3 separate regions of the Homo sapiens genome follow, and all the other regions are linked to region 2. The links are contacts of gene promoters, found by promoter capture Hi-C in human tissues and cell types (Jung and others, 2019). All regions are on one chromosome and are shown on one strand. The core of a region is centred on a gene start or on the middle of the fragment in contact, and the rest is flanking DNA. Distances in the headings are between cores, read along the strand shown.

Region 1 (3,865 bases), core at 602-3,101, 740 kb before region 2:
CAGTTTACTCATGAATCAAGACATCAAGAGAAAGAGAAAAGTTTTACTAACTGATTTAATGAGAAAACACAACCTTTTAAACTTTTGACCACTGCTTAAAGAGTACTTACAGAATTATCTCACTTCCAAGACTTCTTGGAAAAGTAGTTAAGTTACAATTCATAGTCCAGAGATGTACTTGAAGAATGAGCCAGTGATAAAAAATTTTTAACTTTTTTTTGGTGTGTGGGATGGAGTCTTGCTCTGTTGCCCAGGCTGGAGTGTAGTGGCACAATCTCAGCTCACTGCAGCCTCCACCTCCCAGGTTCAAATGATTCTCCTGCTTCAGCCTCCCAAGTAGCTGGAATTACAGGTGCATGCCACCACGCTCAGGTAATTTTTGTATTTTTAGTAGAGATGGGGTTTCACCGTCTTGGCCAGGCTGGTCTCGAACTCCTGACCTCAGGTGATCTGCCTGCCTTGGCCTCCCAAAGTGCTGGGATTACAGGCATGAGCCACCATGCCTTGCCTTAACTTTTATATCGTGTGTGATGAATTTATATCATGGTGTGAATTTTCTGGAGCATTTTACAGGCAGAGATTGCTTAATCATGGGTATATGTTCTGAGAAACGTGTTGTAGGTGATTTCCTCATGGTACAAACATCACAAAGTGAACTTACACAAATCTAGATGGTATAGCTACAACACATCTAGACTATATGGTACAGTCTATTGCTACTAGGCTATAAACCATACAACATGTTGTTGTACTGAACACTGTAGGAAATTGTAACAAAATGTTAAGTATTTATGAGTCTAAACACAGAAAATACACAGAGTAAACATGCAGTATAAAAGATAAAAAAGGATGCACCTGCATAGGACACTCCATGAACATAGCTTGCAGGACTAGAAGTTGCTCTGGGTGAGTCAGTTGAGTGGTGAGTGAATGCGAAGGCCCAGGATGTTACTGTACACTAATGGAGAATTTATAAACACTGTACACTTGGACTACACTACATTCATAAAAACATTTTTTCCTCAATAATGAATAAACCTTAACTTACTGTACATTATTTTCTTTATAAACTTATTTTTAAAAACTTTGTAATAATTTAGCTTAAAACACATTGTACAGCTGTACAAAAATATTTTATGTCCATATTCTATAAGCTTTTTCTATTAAATTTTTTTAAACTATTTTTGTTAAAGACTAACTAAGACACAAACACACATTAGTGTAGGACTACACGGGGTGAGGATCATCAATATCATTGTCTTCTGCCTCCATGTTTTGTCCCGCCAGAATACGTTCAGGGGCAGTCCTGCACATGGAGCCGTCATCGCCTATCATAACAAAGTTTTTCCGGGAATATCTCCTTAAGGACCTGCCTGAGACTGTCTTACTGTTAAAAAAACACAGGAATACATTCTAAAACAGGATTGTAAATATATAAACCAGTAACTTAGCCATTTATTATCAAGTATATATTGCACATCTGTGCTGTAATTTTTTTTTTTTCGAGACGGAGTCTCGCTCTGTCACCCAGGCTGGAGTGTAGTGGTAGATCTCAGCTCACTGCAATCTCCACCTCCCGGGTTCAAGCGATTCTCCTGCTTTGGCCTCCCAAGTAGCTGGGACTACAGGCACACCAGAACGCCCAGCTAATTTTCGTATTTCTAATGGAGACAGGGTTTCATCATGTTGACCAGGCTGGTCTTGAACTCCTGACCTCAACTGATTCTCCCACCTCAGCCTCCCAAAGTGCTGGGATTACAGGTATGAGCCACTGTGCCCAGCCAATTTTTTTTTTTTTTTTTTGATACAGTCTCACTGTCACCCATGCTGGACTGCCATCACGTGATCTTGGTTCACTGTAGCCTTGAACTCCTGGGCTCAGGCAATCCTCCTGCCTCAGCCTCCCATGTAGATGGGACTACAGGGTGTGCTACCACACTTAGAAAATGTTTTTATTTTTTGTAGAGACAGGGTCTCACTAGGTTGACCAGAGTAGTCCTGGCATCAAGCAATCCTACTGCCTTAGTCTCCCAGTGTTGGGATCACAGGTGTGACCATGCCCAGCTGTGTTGTACTTTTTTTTTTTTTTTTTTTTTGAGACAGAGTCTCGCTCTGTTGGCCGGATCTCAGCTCACTGTCAGCTCGGCCTCCTGGGTTTATGCCATTCTCCTGCCTCAGCCTCCCAAGTAGCTGGGACTACAGGCGCCCACCACCACGCCCGGCTAATTGTTTGTATTTTTAGTAGAGATGGGGTTTTACCGTGTTAGCCAGGATGGTCTTGATCTCCTGGCCTCGTGATCCGCCCGCCTTGGCCTCCCAAAGTGCTGGGATTACAGGCGTGAGCCACCGTCCCCGGCCGCTGTCTTGTACTTTTATACAACTGAAAGTGCAGCACGTTTACACCAGCACCATAAACACTTAAATAATGTGCTGCACTATGGTGTTACTACTGCTACTAAATTGCGGTTGATAGAAATGTTTTAGGTGTTATATAATCTTATGGGGCTACCAACCTATATGGTCCATTGCTGACTGAAACATGATTATGTGGTACCTGACTATACATGAATCATCTTGTATCTCGCTTTCTATATTACTTACATTGACAGGATTTCTCTCTTCAGTGGGAATTTTCACAACTTTGAAAGCATCTGTTAGAATTGAAAACTTTCTCCTATTTCTCACATTTATAGAGTTTCTATCGATTGTGCATTCTCATATGTTTTTTTAAGGATGTGGACACACTGAAGGCTTTTCCACATTGCTTACATTCAAGAGGTTTCTCATAATTGTGAATTCTTGTATGTCTTTGAAAGGAACTGTGAAGACTAAAGGCCTTCCCACATTCTTTACATTTATAGGGTTTCTCTCCAGTATGCATTCTCATGTGTCCTTGAAAGCTTGTGGGATAAATAAAGGCCTTCCCGCATTCCTTACATTCATAAGGTTTCTCCCCAGTGTGAGTTCTTTTATGTATCCGAATGTAACTAGAACAACTAAAGGCTTTTCCACATTGTTTACATTCATAGGGTTTCTCTCCAGTGTGAGTTCTTTCATGTGTTCGTAACGCACTAGGAAAAATGAACACCTTCCCACAGTCCCTACATTTATAAGGTCCGTCTCCAGTGTGGGTGATCATGTGTCTTCGAAAGTTCTCAAGAGAAATGAAGGTTTTTGCACATTCCTTACACTCATAGGGTTTTTCTCCAGTGTGATTTCTCTTGTGGATTTTCAAATCTAGAGGATAATTGAAAGTTTTCCCACATTTTTTACATTCGTAGGGTTTCTCTCCAGTGTGAGTCCTTTCATGTATTCGAAAGTAACTGATTCTACTAAAGGCTTTCCCACATTCTTTACACTTATAGGGTTTCTCTCCAGTATGCACTCTCACGTGTACTCGAAAGGCTGGGCGTGCACTGAAAGATTTCCCACATTCTTTACATTTATAGGGCTTCTCTCCAGTATGAATTCTTTCATGAATTTGAATGGAGGTGGAACATCTGAAGGCTTTACCACATTGTTTACATTTATAGGGTTTCTCTCCAGTGTGAATTCTTTCATGTACTCGTAAAAAACTGGGAAAAATGAATGCCTTTCCACATTCTTTGCATTTATAAGGTCTATCTCCGTTGTGTGTTATCATGTGTGTTAGAACACTTGTGTGGGAAATGAAGGCTTTCCCACATTCCTTACATGCATAGGGTTTCTCTCCAGTGTGAGTTCTTTCGTGTACTCGAATAGAACTGGAACAACTGAAGGCTTTCCCACATTGTTTACATTCATAGGGCTTTTCTCCAGTGTGAATCCTTTCATGAACTCGAAGCGAACTGGAACAACTAAGAGCTTTTCCACATTGCTTACATTC
Region 2 (3,963 bases), core at 1,098-3,597:
AGGAAGGCTTCTGTCTCCTGCTCGTTCCGGGGAATGGAATGTCTCTGTGTAAAGCCGACCATTCATTCTATTCTGAAATAGGAGAAAACCGCCCTGTGGGAGGCAAGATATGCTGGCAGCAATACTGCTCTGTTACTCTTTGCTACACTGAGATATTTGCATAAAGTGAAACATAAATCTGGCCTACCTGCACATCCAGGCACAGTATCTTTCCTTGAACTTATTCATGATACAGGTTCCTTTGCTCACATGATTCCCTGCTGACCTTCTCCCCACCATCACCCTGTTGTCCTGCCACACTCCCCTCGCCAAGATAGTAAAAATAGTGATCAATAAATACTGAGGGAACTCAGAGACCAGCGCCGGTGCAGGTCCTCGCATGTTGAGCGCCGGTCCCCTGGGCCCACTGTTCTTTCCCTATACTTCGTCTCTGTGTCTTATTTCTTTACTCAGTCTCTTGTCTCTACCTGACAAGAAACACCCACAGGGGTGGAGGGGCAGGCCCCCTTCAGGTGCGTGCCTGTAATCCCAGCTACTCAGGAGGCTGAGGCTAGAGAATTGCTTGAATCCGGAAGGTGGAGGTTGCAGTGAGCCGAGATTGAGCCATTGCACTCCAGCCTGAGTGACAGAAGGAGACTCTGTTTTAAATAAAAACAAAAACAAAGTACCTTCCCAGGTAAGTGAAGTGACCGGCTCTTGGCCAAGGGAACCCCCAAAAAACCCTGAAAATTGAGTGCCTCTGTATGACAGGATGGGAGGTGAGACAGGCCTCCTTATACCCTCTCCCTTTAGGAGTTTACATGCAGCAACTGACGCACATTCATGTAAAAACAGACATTATCTGACTGGAAAAACAGACTCCTTGTGGCAAGAAGATACCAAATTACAAACAAGACCTAAGGCCACGCAAGACAAGGGTAAGTCACACCTTAGAATTCATAAAATCTAGAGAAACAGGTCTGTTTTTTGGCTGGGATGGAATCAAGTGGCAGATAACAGACCCCCTTCCTTCAGCATTCCTTCCTACCTCCTCCAAACTTTAGACAAAGCTTCACACTCTCAACCAGCTGCCACCTACAGAATCCCTCAACCACCTGTGCCTTCTAACCCCCCTTCCACAGGTCCCGCCCTTTCTGTTTTTTGTTTTTGTTTTTGTTTTGAGACAGAGTCGCACTCTGTGCTGAGGCTGGAGTGCAGTGGCACTGTGTGGGCTCACTGCAACCTGTCTCCTGGATTCAAGTAATTCTCTTGTCTCAGCCTCCCGAGTAGCTGGGATTACAGGCGTCCACCATCACGCCCGGCTAGTTTCTTTTTTATATTTTTAGTAGAGACGGGGTTTCACCATGTTGGCCAGGCTGGTCTTGAACTCCTGACCTCAGGTGATCCGCCCGCCTTGGCCTCCCAAAGTGCTGGAATTACAAGCGTGAGCCACCGTGCCCGGCCAGGTCCCTCCCTTTCTGCCTAAGGAAATTACACCTTCCAGGCACTAATTCATGATTTTCCCTGCAATTCCTGTCTCTCTAAAATGAATAAAACCAAACTGTCTTGAGCCGCCTCGGGACCACTTACTCCAGGCTTCTTGGGGTTGTTTTTCCCTCGGCCAAGGTCTCTCCTATTCGGCTCCGAATAAACTTCTTTATTTTACATAGTTTGGCTTTTTCCGTTGACAAACCACAAGCCAGGACTGGGTGTGTCTCATTCGTGAATCGCTGTTTGCTCAAATGAACTCTTTGTTAACGTTCCTCAGTTTAATTTTTAACAGGAGAAAAAGTGGACACTGGGGGCCCCACAGACCGCTGCTCCTCCCAAGCACGAACCCCACACCCGAGTCGGGATCACCCACATGACCCTCCCGTGGCCCCCGCACAATCTGGGTAGACGCGTGGCTGCGGGCGCGGAGCTGCCCATAGAGGGCTCTGGAACCGCAGTCGCCGCGCAGAGACGAGACAGGACGCCTGGTGTCCCGGCTACCGGCCCAGCCACACCGAGCAGTCGAGGGGACCGAGGGCCGAGCGGCTCCAGGAGGACTCGGTCCCAGATCCCAAAGTCGCCCGCAGGAAAGCCAGGGTCTCGCCACAGTCGGTTCCGGTCGGTCCAGGCAGCCCCTCCCCCGTCTCACGACACCCGGCCCCAGACACGCACCATTTCCTGGCTTTCAGATGTCCCGGGGTCCTCTCTACACCTCCTGTGACTACAGCAGGGCATAGCGTAGGTGACAGAGTGACAGAAGCCTGGGCAGAGGAACCAGGTCCCTCTCGGGGCTGGAAAGACCGGATCCCAGCCGCAGCCCGCGCAGGGACAAAGGTGAGGTAAGGAATGCGACCCCCTCAGTGTCTGGAGGAACAGTGGGCAGGGACCCGCCACAATGCCTCTGATTGGATGGAATGCTAGGCCCCGCCCCCCATGTCTGAGTGACAGCGGAAGCCCTGGGTATCGGGCCCTGCAGAGCCAGACAGACGGATTCTGACCACAGCTTTTCCAAGGGCGAGCTCCTTCCTGCACTCTGGTTATTGGATATTTGCATTTCAGCCAAACTTGCTATTGATAGAGGAGAACACTAGCGTCTTCCTCACTCAAGGGACTGTCCCTGCTCCTTCGTTCTGCATGGGGTCACAGGAGTGTGCAGGGAATTTCAGATTCAGTGTCCACAGGAGCCATCTCCTGCCTCAGAGCAGCAGGGGAACCGAGACCAGGCCAGACACGACTGCGCCAGGAGGAGAGGCATATGTCTTGGAGCGGGCCGCAACTGGGGATGAGGCATGGCTAAGACTTGCTCTCACACCCCCATCCCCTCCTCACAGTGTGAAAATGCTTCCTCCTTCCAGATCTTCATTTTCACCAGCAGGAAACTCTCTCCAGGGGTTAAGTTAAGCTTTTGACCTAAATAAACTGCCAACTTCATGAACCCTTTATCCAGGTGACGCTCCCAAACATTTCTGTCTCTAGCCTGATCTTCACACATTTTCTTTTCTTTTTTTTTTGAGACAGAGCCTCGCTCTGTCCCCCCAGGCTGGAGTGCAGTGGTGCAATCTCCACTCACTGCAACCTCCGCCTCCTGGGTTCAAGTGATTCTCCTGCCTCAGCCTCCCCAGCAGCTAGGATTACAGGCACATGCCACCGCGCCTGGCTAATTTTTTGTATTTTTAGTAGAGACAAGGTTTCACCATGTTGACCAGACTGGTCTTGAACTCCTGACCTCAAGTGATCCACCCGCCTCGGCCACCCAAAGTGCTGGGATTACAGGCGTGAGCCACCGCGCCTGGCCCACATTTTCTTTATATATATGAATATCTCTGTCGGATATAAAATGCTTTAGGAATAAATTCTTGGTCCCACGAAGTAAAACTAGCACTTAGGGGAAAGTTTCATTTGTTTAGCAAGGCAATTTACTTCTGCAGAAGTGTGCCACTTGTGTCAATCAAGATCACAAGAGCACAGAGAACAAAGGTCACCGGGGGTTTTTTTATCCTTAATGCGGTCCCTATCTCTGTGTCACTCCTTCATGGGCTGGGGTTCGACCACACAATCTGAGCTGACCCGACTGGCTACTTGTACGTATTTTTCTAAATATAGAAGGAGAGGGGAACGTGAGGTACAGAGATGGAGCGTGTGAGACGTGCAGTTTCGGGGGAACAATGGGTACAGGTAACCAAGGGAACAGATGTGAGTTATTGATTAGAGCTGACGGGAAGGGGGTAGGCTGTTTTACAGTAACTAGGGGCAAGGAGGAACAGGAAAGTTGAGCTGGAGAACAAAAGACAAGGAAGTTAGCAGGCTAAGTCTTTGAAGAGAAACTCAGAGAGGCCAGGCGCGGTGGCTCACGCCTGTAATCGCAGCACTTTGGGAGGCTGAGGCGGGTAGATCACGAGGTCAGGAGATCGAGACCATCCTGGCTAACATGGTGAAACCCCGTCTCTACTAAAAAATACGAAAAATTAGCCAGTCGTGGTGGTGGGCGCCTGT
Region 3 (4,095 bases), core at 1,571-4,070, 610 kb before region 2:
GGATTATAGGCTCCTGAGCCCAGCTGTCTTCCTTAAACATTCCTTTTTTTTTTTTGAGACAAAGTTTCGCTCTTATTGCCCAGGCTGGAGTGCGATGGCATGATCTCACCACAACCTCCGCCTCCCAGGTTCAAGTGATTCTCCTGCCTCAGCTTCCCGAGTAGCTGGGATTACAGGCGCCACCACCACGCTTGGCTAATTTTATATTTTTAGTAGAGACAGGGTTTCTCCATGTTGGCCAGGCTGGTCTCGAACTCCTGACCTCAGGTGATCCACCCGCCTCGGCCTCCCATAGTGCTGCGATTACAGGCATAAGCCACCGCGCCCGGCCCAAACATTCATTCTTATCTAATGACTCCAAATGTTTACTCCTTTAGCCAACTGTAAATCAAAGAACCTCTGAGTCTACCTATAACCTGTAAGCCCCCGCTTCAAGATATTCTACCTTTTCAGGCCAAATCAATGCCTACCTTCCATGTACTGATTTATGTCTGCCTGCAACTCCTGTCTTTCTAAAATGCATAAAACCAAACTGTAGCTGGGTGCTGTGGCTCGTGCCTGTAATCCCAGCACTTTGGAAGGCTGAGGCCAGCAGATCACTTGAGGCCAGGAGTTCAAGACCAGCCTGGCCAACAGGGCAAAACCCCATCTCTACTAAAAATACAAAAAATTTAGCCAGGCATGGTGACGCAGGCCTGTAATCCCAGCTACTTAGGAGGCTGAGGCACAACAATTGCTTGAACCTGGGAGGCTGAGGTTGCAGTGAGCTGAGATTGTGCCACTGCACTCCAGCCTGGGCGACAGAGTGAGACCCTGTCTCAAAAATACCAAATAACTGTAACCTGGCTGCCACTGGTGCACTTTCTCAGGACTTCTTGAGACTGCGTTTTCTGGGCCGTGGTCACTCATACTGACTCAGAATAAAGCCTTAAAATATTTGAGAGTTTGGTGATTCCATTGACAGTGGGCAGCTGTTAGAAAGAAGAGGGGGGTTGACACTGAATCTGCCAACAGTCAAATACCAGAAAGGGTGGAGTCCAACTACTCATTACAAGAGCAAACATGGATAAGAAAAACATGCATTTGCAATTGCTTGTTTTTGTTGTTGTTGTTGTGTGAGACGGAGTTTCACTCTTGTTGCCCAGGCTGGAGTGCAATAGCGTAATCTCAGCTTACCACAACCTCAGTCTCCTGGGTTCTAGTGATTCTCCTGCCTCAGCCTCCCGAGTAGCTGGGACTACAGGCGCCCGCCTCCTGAGTAGCTGGGACTACAGGCACCCGCCACCACGCTCAGCTAATTTTGTATTTTTAGTAGAGACAAGGGTTCTCCATGTTGGTCAGGCTGGTCTCGAACTCCAGACCTCAGGTAATCCGCCTGCCTCGGCCTCCCAAAGTGCTGGGAATACAGGTGTGAGCCACCGCGCCTGGCCTGCAATTGCTTGTTTTAATAAAGAAACACTAATAGGATGCACAAGGAATTACCAAAAGTTTTTACGAAGGGCGGGGTGGCTGGAGCAAGAATCCTGGAATGAACCAGGATATGCTTGACAGTGAGTCTTATGTTAGATTTTCCTGTCTCATAGATTTTTTTTTTTAACCTTCACATGTATTATCTCTCTAAAATGAATGGAGGCCTGGTGCAGTGGCTCACACTTGTAATCCCAGCACTTTGGGAGGCCGAGCTAGGAGGATCACTTGAACTCAAGAGTTCAAGACCAGCCCGGGCAACCCTGCCGGTTGGTGAAACCCTGCCTCTACAAAAAATACAAAAATTAGCCAGGCATGGTGGTATGTGCCTGTAGTTCCAGCTACTCAGGAGGCTGAGTTGGGAGGATCACTTGAGCAGGGGAGGCTGAGGCTGCAGTGAGCTATGATCGATCGTGCCACTGTACTCCATCCTGGGTGACAGAGCAAGACCCTGTCTAAAAATATACATTAAAAAGGCCGGGCACGGTGGCTCACGCCTGTAATCCCAGCACTTTGGGAGGCCGAGGCAGGCAGATCACCTGAGGTCAGGAGTTCGAGACCAGCCTGACCAACATGGAGAAACCCCATCTCTACTAAAAATACAAAAAGATTAGCTGGGCATGGTGGCACATGCCTGTAATCCCAGCTACTCGGGAGGCTGAGGCAGGAGAATCACTTGAACCTGGGAGGTGGAGGTTGCTGTGAGCCAAGATTGTGCCATTGCACTCCAGCCTGGGCAACAAGAGTAAAACTCCGTCTCAAAAAAAATAAAAAATAAAAAAATAAAATGAACGAAGATATTTATCTGCACTATATTTTACTATTAAAGTCTTTAAATAATGTAGTTTTTTTTAAATTTTAAGTTGTCTTCATTAAGATTTAATCCTTTATACACTTTTAAAAGTGTAAACTATACGAAATGTAAAATTTCAAATCTTAAGAGAATCTGCATCATAGCATGTCTGTCCACTGTATCTCACACTGAGGGGTATTTTCAGGAAAGAGTAGCATATTATAGATTGGGCGCGGTGGCTCACGCCTGTAATCCCAGCACTTTGGGAGGCCGAGGCGGGCGGATCGCGAGGTCAGGAGATCGAGACCATCCTGGCTAACATGGTGAAACCCCAGCTCTACTAAAAATACAAAAAAATTAGCCAGGCGTGGTGATGGGCACCTGTAGTCCCAGCTACTCGGGAGGCTGAGGCAGGAGAATGGCGTGAACCCGGGAGGTGGAGCTTGCAGTGAGCCGAGATGGCGCCACTGCACTCCAGCCTGGGCAACAGAGCAAGACTCAGTCTCAAAAAAAGAGTAGCATATTATAATACATTAGGGTTTGGATATAACCATTAAATGTAGTAGAATTTTTCAAAGATTACACAAGCTTTGAGGAGTAGTTTTCCTCGTATCAATTAAAACAGGAATCCATTTGCCCTGGGAATAGTAGAGCCTTTGAAGTTTGAAAGTTTTCTAGGGATATGCACACACACAAACTAATGTAAAAATAAAAATGCACCTGAGAAGTTAAACATATCCATCTCACACCATGAGCTTCTTTTGCCTGAAAGGAATAAAAATTCTATTTGGTTCCAGGATTTGCTTCTCTTACATCATATTTCTCAATCAACTTAAATTTTCAAAGACCAACAAACTAAAAATCCTACAGACTCATACAGGGAATAAAATTACAAAATGTTAAAGGAAACTGGAGTTAAAGTGCTGCAATATTCAATAGAAAAAGGAATCCAAAGGAAAGAAACACAAACATTGAATCAGCTCAGATAAGCAGCCTGCTTCTCCGCAATTCAGAAGAAAAACCAACATCCAGAAGGTTAAACACATACCAAAGCTTGGAGTCCACACTCTCTCCCTGTTAGGGTATAGTCCCTAGAGTGGAATAGTCCCTGGTGACAGCAGGGACACCTGAGCAGCCACAGGAATGAACTCCGGGAGCAGAGAATGCCCCTTCCCACTGGTTCTCGTAAGTGACGAAACTGTCAGCTGGATTCAGATGAAGGTTCTGACACAAATGAACTCCCAAAGTCATTAACACCATGTCCAGGAGACAGAACTTGTAACTTTCACAGACTTTTTCAATATGGAAAAATTACACCACGAGTGTACCCTAATGTGAAAGCAAAACTCAAACCTAATGTCTAAAAGTAGACCCAAGGAAACTACAATTACAACCTAGACAATTAAAACCCTCCCGGTTCTCCTAAAACCGCGTGCGGTTCCCAGCATTCCAGTGCTCTGTAGCTTCTCTCTGTATAAAGAGCTCTTTCCTTGGTGGGTGAGAGCAAGTAGGACACTTTTGGGGAAGGCTCCCCAGGAAGACCCATCTGGGCTTTCAATGACCTCCCTTTGCAGGCTCAAGAGTGGTCTTAGCTTGAAGTCACTAGTCTCTGGCTGCTGCTCCCCAGTCATGGGGCTTTCAACCGCTATTGATGTTTATTTTTTTGAGACAGGGTCTCCCTCTGTCACCCAGGCTGTAGCGCAGTGGCGAGATCATAGCTCACCGCAGCCTCGACCTCCAGGGCTTGGGCTTAAGTGAGCCTCCCACCTCAGCCCCCTGAGTAGCTGGGACTACAAGCACAGGCCATCATGCAGCTAATTTTTGTATTTTTAGTA

What was found. The method cuts DNA at HindIII sites, captures the fragments that hold promoters and counts their contacts. A contact is called where the count stands out against the background at its distance.
Region 1: a fragment that was not itself captured here is called in contact with the fragment with the promoter of ZNF69 in region 2 in 1 of the 25 tissues and cell types used here (dorsolateral prefrontal cortex).
Region 3: a fragment that was not itself captured here is called in contact with the fragment with the promoter of ZNF69 in region 2 in 3 of the 25 tissues and cell types used here (bladder, hippocampus and mesendoderm cells).

Annotation. Positions count from the first base shown.
Region 1 is chr19:12,628,094-12,631,958 of GRCh38, reverse strand. It overlaps ZNF791 (zinc finger protein 791), which reads right to left. Exons shown (of 4, transcript NM_153358.3): 4 at 1-3,865. The coding sequence ends at 2,699. Among named protein-coding and RNA genes, the nearest start is that of ZNF791, 19 kb to the right of the region's middle. The HindIII fragment of the contact is 6,065 bases long and covers 1-3,865 here.
Region 2 is chr19:11,886,166-11,890,128 of GRCh38, reverse strand. ZNF69 (zinc finger protein 69) reads right to left here and starts at 2,347. Exons shown (of 4, transcript NM_001364730.1): 1 at 2,143-2,347. The coding sequence starts at 2,205. RefSeq lists an enhancer at 2,101-2,150. The HindIII fragment of the contact is 10,336 bases long and covers 1-3,549 here.
Region 3 is chr19:12,496,503-12,500,597 of GRCh38, reverse strand. No RefSeq gene overlaps it. Among named protein-coding and RNA genes, the nearest start is that of ZNF709, 14 kb to the right of the region's middle. The HindIII fragment of the contact is 4,297 bases long and covers 672-4,095 here.